2 separate regions of the Homo sapiens genome follow, and region 1 is linked to region 2. The links are contacts of gene promoters, found by promoter capture Hi-C in blood cells and fetal thymus (Javierre and others, 2016). All regions are on one chromosome and are shown on one strand. The core of a region is centred on a gene start or on the middle of the fragment in contact, and the rest is flanking DNA. Distances in the headings are between cores, read along the strand shown. Region 1 overlaps AP2B1 (adaptor related protein complex 2 subunit beta 1). Region 2 holds the start of RAD51D (RAD51 paralog D).

What was found. Contacts are between HindIII fragments. The CHiCAGO score rates a contact against its expected background, and 5 or more counts as called.
Region 1: a contact is called between a fragment that was not itself captured here and the fragment with the promoter of RAD51D in region 2, in 2 of 17 cell types (total CD4 T cells and total CD8 T cells). The highest score is 7.2, in total CD4 T cells.

Annotation. Positions count from the first base shown.
Region 1 is chr17:35,606,498-35,613,111 of GRCh38, reverse strand. It overlaps AP2B1 (adaptor related protein complex 2 subunit beta 1), which reads right to left. Exons shown (of 22, transcript NM_001030006.2): 5 at 4,725-4,970. Among named protein-coding and RNA genes, the nearest start is that of AP2B1, 22 kb to the right of the region's middle. The HindIII fragment of the contact is 221 bases long and covers 5,073-5,293 here.
Region 2 is chr17:35,118,610-35,125,592 of GRCh38, reverse strand. It overlaps RAD51D (RAD51 paralog D), which reads left to right and starts at 5,733. Exons shown (of 10, transcript NM_002878.4): 1 at 5,733-6,061; 2 at 6,421-6,482; 3 at 6,974-6,983. The coding sequence starts at 5,980. RAD51L3-RFFL (RAD51L3-RFFL readthrough) reads left to right here and starts at 4,071. Exons shown (of 7, transcript NR_037714.1): 1 at 4,071-4,302. It overlaps FNDC8 (fibronectin type III domain containing 8), which reads right to left and starts at 3,978. Exons shown (of 4, transcript NM_017559.4): 1 at 3,691-3,978. The coding sequence starts at 3,899. RefSeq lists an enhancer at 5,401-5,460 and a silencer at 5,671-5,870. The HindIII fragment of the contact is 14,701 bases long and covers 1-6,983 here.

The DNA of each region.
Region 1 (6,614 bases), core at 3,934-6,433, 490 kb before region 2:
TGAAAAAGTGGAACAAAATCACTCCTCAAGAGCAGTAAAATAAGGACTCATATCCATCACTGGAATAAGAGGATTGATATTTCTTTTTTTTTTGTATCTTTCATTTTTTTTTTCTTTTTTGAGATTTCTATAATGAAGCAGTGTTCAGATAACTCAGTCTTTATGTATTCAAACGTAAACACTTTGAGAAAATGAAGCAGTTCTGTGTGTGTGTGTGTGTGTGTGTGTGTGCGCACATACACATTTAAATGACCTCAGGTGATCCACCCTCCTCAGCCTCCCAAACTGCTGGGATGACAGGCGTGAGCCACCACACCTGGCCTAAATTCTCTGGTATACATTCATCCATGAAGGTAGTAACCAGCAATGGAGTCTGGGACTCAGAACTAGGTTGGGATCCTAGCTACATTACTACTAGCTGCATGATTTTAGGAAGAGTTCTTCAGTCTGAGTAAACATTTCTTGACCTGTAACATGGAATAACCTCTGCTTTAAGGAGAAATGTGAGAACTAAGTGAAACATTGTAAGTAAAAGCATCTACCACTGTGCATGGCATAGAAGGCACTTAAATTTAAGTGTTCTAATGACAGTTGTAATACTCTAAGGTAATAAGTAGGGAATACAGTTGAGATGAAAAGTATAAATTCAAAATAAAAAGTAGGTATGTATCTATGTGTGTTGGCTACCTCTTAAGCCCAAGCTTTTCAGTTCTTCACTAAAACAAGAATGAAGAGCTCAAAAAATGATTTTAATATGAGTATGTGTAACAAGGCCAGGACAAGAGTAAGGCAAGTGAGGCACTCCAGGCACAAAACTAAGGAGGCACTCTGTTCTCAGGCTTGTGAGGTACAGAGTTCGCACCTGAGAATGAGTGTCTTCTTAAATTTTACACTCCAGGCACCTCTTTAGGCTAAGTCAAACAATATCAGAAAAGTTCTGCTACTGAGTTCTGACAAAACAGCAAAGATCTTCTATTCAGAGAGCAGTTGGTCCAATAATTTGCTATCTAATGCTGACACCCTGCTCTAGGAAAATCTATAAATAAAGAGACAACAAAATATGAGGTATTCCTGAAACTGTTTCTCAAAAATCTACCAAGTAGCTTTAAATTTTCTCTAAAAGTCTCCTCAAAAATATTTATGAAAATCTCCCCAAGTCACGTTTTGATTTGTTGTAGTAAAAACAGGTTAAAAATTAAGAACACTATACAGTTTACTATAATATTATGATATACTAAATTCAAATAGAGACCTATTCATGTGCTGCCTGCTTAAATTTTATATAGCTAGGGGATGGGGAAAGAAAATAAGTAAAACAAGATTGGCATGTATTGATGACTAGTGAATCTAGTGATGATAAATGAATTCATTTTATTTATTGTATTCATTTATTTGTCCTAATTTTGAATGTTTGAAGATTCCCACAATAAAAAACACAAATACATAAATAGCATACGTATGCCACCTGATTTTATGGACTAGATGAAAACTAGCTCTCTCCTTTGCAATGTAAACTTTGAATAAATCGGACAAACTAAGCTTGTTCCAGAATCATTTTATTCTTCTCGGTTTATCTGGATAAAGATCTCTAAATGTGCTACTTGAGTGTGTGTGCGCACGTGCGCGCGCGCACACACACACACACACGACTTTACTGCTAAACATCCCTTAGGCCTTATCCCTGACCATCTAACTGTATAGGTTCTGCATTAAAGAATTTACATTAGCATAGAGATGCTGCCTCAAACTGGAGTCGCCTGTAAGTTAGAACTCATTTTCCCTTTGAGCCATTCCATATTCTTAGCACCACTGAATATTTAATAAGTTTCCACGGGGTACATGATATTCTGCCCACCTGGTTGACGGTTGCAGCACAAACACTTTTCATCTCATCTGTCCTCAGGTAGAGAATTATAGATAGTTGCTCAGAATAACAGTGAATCAAAAGCAATGCCAAAAACACAAGTTGGTGCCAGCTAAACATTCTGTAAAGTAGATACTACTAACTTTAGACAATATTTATTTTTCTATATTTTTGAGGAAGGGTCTGTCTTTGTCACTCAGGCTATAATGCAGTGGTGCAATCATAGCTCACTACAGCCTTAAACTCCTGGGCTCAAGGGATTCTCCCACCTCGGCCTCCCAAGTACCTGGAATTACAGGCATGCACCACCACGTCCAACAAAATTTTTTTTTTTTTTTTTGAGACAAGAGTCTCGCTCCGTCACCCAGGCTGGAATGCAGTGGCACGACCTCGGCTCACTGCAAGCTCCGCCTCCTGGGTTCACACCATTCTCCTGCCTCGGCCTCCTGAGTAGCTGGGACGATAGGCGCCTGCCACCACGCCCGGCTAATTTTTTGTATTTTTAGTAGAGACGGGGATTCACCGCGTTAGCCAGGATGGTCCTGATTTCCTGACTTCGTGATCCACCCACCTCGGCCTCCCAAAGTGCTGGGATTACAGGCATGAGCCACTGCACCCGGCCCCACCGAATTTTTTAAAAAAATTTTTGTAGAGACAGGGTCTCAGTTTGTTGCCCAGGCTGGTCTCAAACTCTTGGCTTCAAGTGATCCTTCTGCCTCAGCCTCCCAAAGTGCTAGGATTATAGGCATATGAGCCAACATGCCTAGCCAACTAATTTCTTTATGTAATTTTTAAAAAGGGGGCTGGGTGTGATGGCTCATGCCTGTAATCCCAGCACTTTGGGAGGTCAAGGCAGGTGCATCACCTGAGTCAAGAGTTTGAGACCAGCCTGGCCAACATGGTGCAACGTCGTCTCTACTAAAAATACAAAAATTAGCCGGGCATGGTAGTGGGCACCTGTAATCCCAGTTACTAAGGAGGCTGAGGCAGGAGGAGAATCGCTTGAACCCAGAAGGTAGAGGTTCCAGTGAGCCGAGATCATGCCACTGCACTCCAGACTGGGCGACAGAGTGACACTCCATCTCAAAAAAAAATAAAAAATAAATAAAAGGTACCATATGGTGTTACTTAGGGGAAATAAAAGGCAGGGTTGAATCTTCTAGTACTGGTGGTGATGCTCTGTCAGAAGTCATGGTTAAAGCATCTGCACTTCCACACCCACACCGACGCCCACCCTTATGCCTAGGTTGAAAGATTTCTAATGGTAGTTACTACCATAAAAACCTTAAAAAATTATGACTTGCTTCATCCTGTGGATTTAATACTAATCTTGAAGGATAATAAACAGAAGCCAAGGCTACCTGTAAAATAAAATGAACCAAACAAAATGTCAAAGCAGAGAAGTGAACAGGTAATTTACAAATGAGAGACAGCATCTATGTCCAGCCAAATTCTAATTCTCCATTTAAAGTTCACTAAGAAAATATTCAGGCCAAGCACAGTAATTCACTGAGGAAGGCCAAGGTGGGAGGATTGCTTGAGGCCAGGAATTCATGACCAACCTGGGCAACATAGCAAGACCCCATCTCCATAAAAAATAAGGCTGGGTGCGGTGGCTCACACATGTAATCCCAACACTTTGGGAGGCCATGTCAGGTGGATCACGAGGTCAGGAGATCAAGACCATCCTGGCTAACACGGTGAAGCCCCGTCTCTACTAAAAAATACAAAAAATTAGCCAGGCGTGGTGGCAGGCGCCTGTAGTCCCAGCTACTCAAAAGGCTGAGGCAGGACAATGGCATGAACCTGGAAGGCGGAGCTTGCAGTGAGCTGAGATCACGCCACTGCACTCCAGCCTGGGCGACAAGGCAAGACTCTGTCTCAAAAAAAAAAAAAAAATTAGCGGGATGTGGTGGCATGTGCCTGCAGTCCTAGATGCTCAGGAGGCTGAGGTAGGAGTGCTTGAACCCAGGAGTTCAAAGTTACAGTGAGCTATGACTGCACCACTGCACTCCAGCTTGGCCACAGAGCAAGATCCTATCTGTAAAAAATAAATAAATAGATAGATAAATAATTTTTAAAAGGGAATATTCAAAGGTTATCCACTGATTAACTCTTAGTGTTATGCACCTTTCAGTAAACATTGCATTAGACCAAAAAGGTAGCACTTTAAAGAAAGTGGCTATTTTCCTCCATCTTCCTGGCAACAATATTTAATGACCCATCCAATATATTCAATTAGTACCCAATTCAAATGAGCTTTAGTTATTACTGGAGTCAAACATATCACTTGGGACTTGACCTTCTTCATTATATAAGCAAAGTTTAAAATGTCAATAAGGAAAAGGTCCCAAAACTTTAAGGTGTTAAGCTATGTTCTGGCTGCTAAACATTTACAACATAACCAAGTTGGCTAAAAATAATCTTGCCCTAGAAATTCCCCTATAGAGAAATGCATGATAATAATTAGGTAATAAAGATCATTTTCATTCAGTTTCTAGTCCCACACCACCAGAAAATACCACAAATATTGATCTGAAGAAAATAATCTTAAATATATATAAATTTACGGCCAAACCTCCTGAAGAAAATGATGAAAGTTTTCATCATGGGCAATATGGGCAAATATGAGCATAAGTACAATACAAAGATTTGCTTTAAGATCCCTGCATTTTAGTACTTGGTTCTCACCTCAAAAACACCTAGGATATGAAATATACAATCTGTGAGACACACAAAGTCATGTTTCCCATAGCTACCCCATAACCCAGTATTCCAAAGACAAGGTTCATATTAAACACGCTTTAACAAGGGACTCATTTTAAATACTGCTCTCTTTGTAAAAGCAGAAGCTTATTACCATTGGATTTGAATCTGCTATGAGATCCCGTAGAGAATCCAGAAATCCCTGATCTTCCACCATTTGGGCATTGATATCATGGAGTTTTGCCACGCAGACTGCTGCTGTTTTCCGAACATAGGGATCCTCATCCTTCAAGCACTTGCGGAGCGGCTCACAGAGATATTCTGTAATTTTGTCTACCCGGATGCACCCCATGGTTCTGACTGCCAAGGCTCGAATCAAAGGATTAGGATCTTCACAGTCCTGCAGAAAACAATCACCAACAACTGTAGGTATACATGGTGGCTAAAAGTAAACAGTCCAGTTTATGTAAGCTGCAAAAGAATTACCTCATTAATTTAAGCTTCCAGATACATTCTACATGAGCTCCAATCTTCCATGCTATTCCTTTCCTAAGTACAAATCTTAGCTGCCCTATTTAAGAGTTTAGGTGAAGAAGTCATTTAACTGTTTTAAATACAAAATGAGAAACAGCTCAGCAGGATTCACTCTAGTGCCAGGCAGAGGTTTAGGGAGTTCGTACCATCCCACAGCCATTAGGATCTACCCTAAAAACAGGAAAAGCTTTTGGGCTTGTATTCCGGCACAGGAAAAAAAAAAAAAAAAAAAAGAGGAGCTGTAAAGACCGTGCCCTACTCCACAGTGAGTTCCTAAACATCAAATAGAAAAGAGAGCTAGATTTCTGTGGCCTGCAGCCAAGAAAACAAAGGGGAGCACAGGAGCTGGTCTGGGCTTGAAATAAGTACCTGGAGTTAAGCAGCAGAGAAGGCCCTCTGAGCTCTTGGCTAACATACATTCTCTTTTACTAGCAAGTGCTTCCAAATATAGTAAATAGAATATGGAGAAAGAACACTCTTTTAAACTGCCTTACACTAAAAAAATGTCTTTAAGCCCATGTAAATCTATGCACAACTCTAACTTCCAAAAAATGTAAACTAAATTCTTCCCAATGATATATTCCCTCTATGAACCACCAGTCATGGAGAACAAACTGTTACGTTCTGACTCTATAATGTAGCTAAACACAGGAAAAGAACAAAAAGTTCATGAGAAAGAAGAAAGCATATTGCTTATTTTTCAAAACATTTTAAATAGAAGCTAATTTTAGAAATGCTGTCTGTTTTTTTTAAATGTACACTAAGTTCCAAACAGAGAAAAAACAACTATTAAAAAAATATTAGGCTGGACATGGTGGCTCACGCCTGTAATCCCAGCACTTTGAGAGGCCAAGGTGGGCGGATCACCTGAGGTCAGGAGTTCGAGACCAGCCTGGCCAATATGGTGAAACCCCATCTCTACTAAATATACAAAATTAGCCAGGTGTGGTGGTGCATGCCTGTAATCCCAGCTACTCGGGAGGATGAGGCAGGAGAATCACTTGAGCCCGGGAGGCGGAGGTTGTGGTGAGCTGAGATTGCGCCATTGCACTCCAGCCCGGGCAACAAGAGTGAAATTCTGTCACCAAAAAAAAAAAAAAATTAATGGGAATGATCCCATTATTATTTTCTTTAAATCTATGATAGGAAAGATTTGACTGGATATTCAATAATAAGAAAATATTTTGTCCATTTTTAAAGACATGATGATATTGTGGTTATGTTTAAATAAAAGATCTTATCTTGACAAATATAAAGACAAAACTATTTAATATATGATGTTCAGGATTTCTTTAAAATTATCCAGCAGGAGAGGGGGTTGGAGGTCAGAAAATATGTATGAGGATTACAAACAAGAGTGGTTATGTGTCGGTAACTGTTAAAACTGCAAGACGGATATTTAGGAATTTATTATACTAGTCCTTTTTCTTGAATATGTTTAAAATTTTCCATTAAAAAAAATTAATCACGCCGGGAGTGGTGGCTTGTGTCCGTAACCCCAGCACTTTGT
Region 2 (6,983 bases), core at 4,484-6,983:
TGTAGATGTTGTACAAATAAAAGATATTATTCAGCACATACCCATCTGCAACATGCTTTTTTCACTCAACTTTGTGTTGACATTCATCTATCTTGATACATGTAGCTCTGGTTCAGTCGTTTTTACTGTTTTATGATTTTCCATTACATGGATATTTGTTTTTGTTTTTGTTTTTTGAGACAGGGTCTCCCTCTGCTGCCCAGGCTGGAGTGCAGTGGCACAAACTCCCAGGCTCAAGCCATCCGTCCACCTCCACCTCCTGAGTAGCTGGGACTACAGGTGCACATCACCATGTCTAGCTAATTTTTGTGTTTTTCTGTAGATGCAGGGTTTTGCCATGTTGCCCAGGCTGACTTCGAACTCCTGGGCTCAAGTGATCCTCCCAAAGTGCTTGGATTATAGGTATGAGCCACTGTGCCCGGCCTATATGGATATTTGTATTGTTATGAGATGTTTGCTATTACAAAGAAAAACCTTGTACATGATCCCCACCACTTAACATTTCTTTTTTCTGTTTTTACTCTTTTTTCTTTTTTTTTTTTTTTGAGCTGGAGTCTCGCTCTGTCGCCCAGGCTGGAGTGCACTGGTGTGACTTCGACTCACTGCAACCTCCGCCTCCCTGGCTTAAGCGATTCTCGTGCCTCAGCCTCCCGAGTAGCTGGGATTACAGGCCCACACTGCCACATCTGCCCAATTTTTGTATTTTTAGTAGAGATGGGGTTTTACCATGTTGGTTAGGCTGGTCTCGAACTCCTGACCTCAGATGATTTGCCGGCCTCAGCCTCCCAAAGTGCTGGGATTACAGGCGTGAGCCACTGCCCCCAGCCAAACAAAAAACAATATTTTTTTAACTGATGAAGAACACCAAGCCAAAAAGTTTGGCTTTCAAATCTTTTTTTACCTTTACCCAAAGTAAAATACACTTTCCATGGCAACTTAGTACATGCATATATACGCCTATAACTAAGACAAACATTTCACAGACCAACACTTACTCTGTGTGCAATGGGCTCTGGAATTTCCAATTCTATTATAGTTTATTTTATTTATTTATTTATTTATTTTTGAGATGGAGTCTCACTCTCTCAGCCAGGCTGGAGTGCAGTGGCGTGATCTCAGCTCACTGCAACCTCCGCCTCCTGGGTGAGAGTGATTCTCCTGCCTCAGCCTCCCGAGTAGCTGGGACTACAGGTGCGGCCACCATGTTCAGCTAATTTTTGTATTTTTAGTAGAGAAGGGGTTTCACCATGTTGGCCAGGATGGTCTCGATCTCTTGACCTCGTGGTCTGCCCGCCTTGGCCTTCCAAAGTGCTAGGATTACAGGCGTGAGCCACTGCACCCAGCCAGTTTATTTTTATCATAGTGGTCTTCACCAACTAGAAGGACTTCTTGACCCATTAATAGGTCACAATCCACAGTTTGTGGATCCCTTACTCCCATCCAGCCTCCCAGGTCTTGGTTGATGAACGGGCCAAGTTTTTCCTCCCCAGGTTCCAGCCTCATCAGCCTCCTCCTGAGAAATCCTGATTAGCCCAGATCCCCTATGCTAGCGCTTGGTGGACATTTGGAATAAATGATTCCCCCACCAAGGTCTTTTGTAGACTGAAGAGTCTGGGTATTAATGTCATATGTGCTTTAGATTGTCCTAATGAATTAATATTTCAGATTCACTTACTGCAAATGCTGGTACTGAAGCAAGCACAGAAGGCCGCTAGGCACTGGCTACATGCTGAACATCTCCTCCTCCTGATGTTCACAACAGCTCTGCTGGATGGATGTTAGCCCCATTTGGCAAACAAGGGGCTGAGGGTCCCTGATCTGTTTTTTTTTTTGTTTTGTTTTGTTTTTTTTATGGAGCCTTGCTCTGTCTCCCAGACCCCTGGCTGGAGTGCAGTGGCACAATCTTGGCTCACTGCGACCTCCACCTCCCAGGTTCAAAGGATTCTTCCGCCTCAGCCTCTTGAGTAGCTGGGACAACAGGTGCGTGCCACCACATCCAGCTAATTTTTGTATTTTTAGTAGAGACGAGGTTTCACCATGTTGGCCAGGCTGGTCTCAAACTCCTGACTTCAAGTGATGCATCCGCCTCAGCCTCTCAAAGTGCTGGGATTACAGGCGTGGGCTACCCCATCTGGCCTCCGATCTTAATTAAGTTGTCTAAGACCATAAATCTCTAAGTGGCAGAACTTGGATCTGAGTTTGGGCTTCTAGTCCAAGATTCCCAGTATACCATGAAGTTTCCTACGAGCATCCATCACTTTAGCCATACCTGCTTGCTTACGGGCACTTTGGGGAATGGACACCACATCCCTCTCACATACTCAAGACCAGCTATGTAGTCTGTGGAGCCCAGTGCAAATTGAAGTACCCTGAGCCCCTTATTCAAAAATTCTGAATTTGAAGATAGTAACAGAAAAGCATTAAACTAAGCACAGGCCCCTTGTAAGTGCAGGGCTATTTGTGACTGCACAGGTCATTCACCCATGTGGTGGGTGACCTGCAAGTAATTCCCTCAGCCCACATCACCCTGTACCACCACCCCTTCACTGGCTAACTCCTTTCCTTCCTTGGAGACTCAGCTCAAATATCACTTCCTCCAAGAAGCCTCCTTCAACTGCACCCAGTCTCAAGCTATACTAAGCCCCTCTGGTCCCTCAAGGCATCCTGTCCTGGCACTTACCAGACCATGCTATATCATTCTGGTTATTGCATGATCCCCATCCTTTCACCCCTGACCTCCACATGCCAGACTGGGAGCTCCTTAAAGGCAGGGACTGTGCTTTCCAGCTCTGCGTTCCCAGAACTTAAACACTGGGACAGACACCTTGCAGGTGCTCAAAGAGTTTTGTGGAATGAAGTAGAGGAAAACCAGACTTGGTGAGGAGGAACAGCAAAACCCAGTCCGAAGGAAGGCAGGCTACTGGGGAGCAGTCAGGTAGATGAAGGTACCAAAGAGAGAGGGTTGAGGAAGAGGAGCCATGGGTGTGTCAGGGATTTGGTGATGGTGAGGACCACAGCCAGTCAAGGCAGGATAAGGAGCACTGTCAACAAACTGACTAATCCAAGAAGGCCTCCTGGAGTGGGAGCTCCATATGCCTCCAAGAAGTGATTTGGGGCTCAGGAATACATAAATAGATCCAACCTGCCCACACGCTCTTCTCTGGGAGTCAAGGAACTGGGTTGTGACAAGTCAGGGAAGTATAGATTCTTTGTCTCTCTGCCCAGCCCTCGGCTCCAGCCTTTCTTAGAAACTATAGGCATGGTGGCTCAAGCCTATAATCCCAACACTGTGGGAGGCTGAGGCGGGAGGATCGCTTGAGCCCGGAAGTTCAAGACCAGCCTGGGCAACACGGTGAAACCCCGTTTCTACCAAAAAAAAAAATTTATATATATATATATATATATATATATATATATATATATATATATATATATGAAAATTAGCCAGGTGTGGTGGTGGCGCGTCAATAGTCCCAGCTACTTGGGAGGTGGAGGTGGGAAGATCACTTGAGCTCAAGAATTCAAGGCTGCAGTGAGCCGAGATTGCACCACTGCACTCCAGCCTGGGTGACAAAGCAAGATCCTGTCAAAAAAAAAAAAAAAAAGGAAGGAAGGAAGGAAGGGAGGAAGGAAGGGAGGAAGGAAGGGAGGGAGGGAGGGAGGGAGGGAGGGACCAGATTTGTGACTTACAGTAGGTTGATGGTATCATCCTCCAAGAAGTTGACCAAATTGCCCTTTGAGGCTAGTGGGAGTCCTTTGGTAGTGACGGTCCGGTTCATAGACTTGGGGTTTGAAAAGGGTTTTGGCAGTTGGTCAAGGGCATTCATCATGTTGAAGTTTTCTTTCTTCAGTACAGCCTCCTCCCCATCTCCCACTTGATGGAGTGCCTCTGATGCCATCTGATTTGTTCGGGATGACACCCGTCACCATGCAGGACAACCCAGCTGACCAGAAGCAGAGAGAAACTGTGGGGGCAGTGGCCCACCTTTAGTTTGGACAGTCTGCAGGTGCAATGAGCTGACTTCATAATCATCACAGAGTGTAACAATTACAGGCCAGCCTCCCCCCTTGATTTGAGGCTACTGCTGCCAGGCTAGCTATGTGGCTGGCCAGACCAAGGGCCAGTGTGACTGTGAAGCAGCATCATGAGAGGGGTAAAACCAAGGAACAGACTGCATGAGCCCTTGGGCCCCTTCCAGCTCTAATACTCCATGGTGATGGCAGCCCTGCCCTTCTCTGAAGATCTCAAAATGCCTGACACCTGTGTCCTTCCGCACTGCCCTGGGAAGGAGAATAAGGATGGTGAGAGATGGGCGTGGGATGTAGAGGATGGTGGTGTGGCCCTGAGAGATAGGCAGTATTGGAAAGTGTCTGCTGGGGAGGGAAACTTTGTCCGTAGAAGCTAAGGCTCTCTATCCTGAAACCATAGGCTGCAGACTCCACTGTGCCCAGTCGGTTAGTGAAAGGGAAAGCCCACATGGTTCATAGGGGTTCATGGCTCACATATGATCAGACTTCACTGCTAGAATTCTAAATGTGCCACACCCACACTCCCAAGTACTTTCCTGTGTGGAGTGACAATGGTGGCAGTTGCAGTGGGATACAGAGATGGGCCACACATGATCTCTGCTCTCAGAGAAACCACCTTACAGTAGGAAAACATGTACACAGCTTCAGGGGTGGGGAGGGGGGCTGTTAGAAAGCACTGGCTTTGCAGAGTCAGATGTGGATGTGAAGTCCAGCCCTGTGCCGCCTAGCTGGGTGACCTTTGGCAAGTGATTTAACCTCACTGAACCTCAGTTTCTTCATTGGTGAAACAGGGATAAAAAATAGCGCCTCCCTCACAGATTTGTGATGAGATAACCATGTAAAGTTTTATTTCTTCCTATGGATGAGGCAAAGCAAAGGACATTTAAAAATACCAAATCATATCTTTTTGTGTGTGTTCTATATAACCAAGGTTTCTTGCCCTTAAAAAAAATAAAAAATAAAATAAAAAATAGAGGCCGGGCACGGTGGCTCACACCTGTAATCCCCGCACTTCGGGAGACCAAGGCAGGAGGATTGTTTGAGCCCAGTAGTTCGAGACCTGTGTGGGCAACATGGTGTAACCCCATTTTGTAGAGGCGAAACCTCTACAAAAAATACAAAAATTAGCTGGGCAAGGTGGCACGTGACTGTAGTCCCAGCTACTCAGGAGGCTGAGGCAGGAGGATCGCTTGAACCCAGGAGGTCGAGGCTGCAAAGCTGAGATCTCACCAGGGCACTCCAGCCTGGGCGGCCGATCGAGACCCTGTCTCAACCAAAACAAAACAAACTTTTGAAAAATAGACGCAGGTGCCCTCTGGATGCTTTGCTGCTTCTTGACACCTGTCGTATAATCTGTAATGATGTGATTTCTGCGATTCCTTTTCATTGTCTGTCTTTCCCTTGCTCACAGTAAGCTCCCTGGGGGTAAGGGCGGGTCGTCTTGTGTCGCATTTTGTCTCCAGCGGAGATCCGTTCCGTTTGGAACGGAAGCTGGCGCACAGAAGGCTCTTTAGAAGGTCGGTGTGTGTGTTGCGGCAGAAGGTAGAGGCCGAATGTGGCCGCGGGTGGCGTGTTGAGCGCGGAGGGGGTCGTGGGACTCGGGAACCTGTGCAGGCGGTGGAGAGGGGCGCAGCGGCTCTGCCCCGTGCGGCCCGCAGATGGCGCTGCAGGCCAGGTCCTCGCCGCGCGCCAGCCTGGAACCCGGAAGCGGCAGCGCGGCGCGACCCGGCGGGCGGGCTCTGGGCGCGGGAATCCCGGCGGATCCCGGGCGGGCGGATGACCCCCAGCCCTACCCTTGGTGCCGCCTCCTCCTCTCTCCTTTCTCCTCCGGCAGCCAGCGCGCCTGTGTCCTCTCTAGGAAGGGGTAGGGGAGGGGCGTCTGGAGAGGACCCCCCGCGAATGCCCACGTGACGTGCAGTCCCCCTGGGGCTGTTCCGGCCTGCGGGGAACATGGGCGTGCTCAGGGTCGGACTGTGCCCTGGCCTTACCGAGGAGATGATCCAGCTTCTCAGGAGCCACAGGATCAAGACAGGTGACCGGGTGTGCGCGTGCCAGGGAGCCGCGCGGGCCTCGCACAACCTGGGCAGGCCCCGAGGGCTGGCGCACTGCCCTGGCATACCTGCAGGGCGCTTCCCCTCCATTCCTAGAGGGCCGCGCTTCTGGAGAGGCTCAGGAAGGGTGGGCGTGGGGAGCCAAGCTCTAAAACAGGGTAGAGATTCCTACTGTGTGCAGGGCACCGCGCCGGCTCCTGCAGCTTTGTTATTTCACACTGGCCTCCTGAGACGGCCTGCCGGGGGGTAGAATTGACACCCCATTTGACAGATGAGGAAAAACCAAGTGTGGGAGGCCCCAGTCCTCTCTGCCAATCCGCTATACGTGTTTTGTTTTCAGTGGTGGACCTGGTTTCTGCAGACCTGGAAGAGGTAGCTCAGAAATGTGGCTTGTCTTACAAGGTGAGCTCCTGATCTCCACATTCCAAACCTGAGTGTCTTTTTAAAAAGTCCATCCCAAGCCAGCTGGGCGCGGTGGCTCATGCCTGTAATCCCAGCACTTTGGGAGGCCGAGGCGGGTGGGTCACTTGGAGTCAGAAGTCAGGAGTTCGAGACCATCCAGGCCAACATGGTGAAACCCTGTCCCTACTAAAAATACAAAAATTAGCTGGGTGTGGTGGCCCACGCCTACAATCCCAGCTACTCGGGAGGCTGAGGAAGGAGAATCATTTGAGCCCGGGAGGCAGAGGTTGCAGTGAGCCGAGATCGTGCTACTGCACTCCAATCTGGGCGACAGAGTGAGACCCTGTCTGAAACAACAACAATAACAAAAGTCCATCCCAAGCCAAAGGGAGCAGAGGGTTCTCAGATATTGAGAAGTAGGGTGAATGACACCCTGGGATGCCAGCTTCTACGGGCAATTTGTTGCTGAGCAGTCTGGGGCCCTTTGGCAGGCCCTGGTTG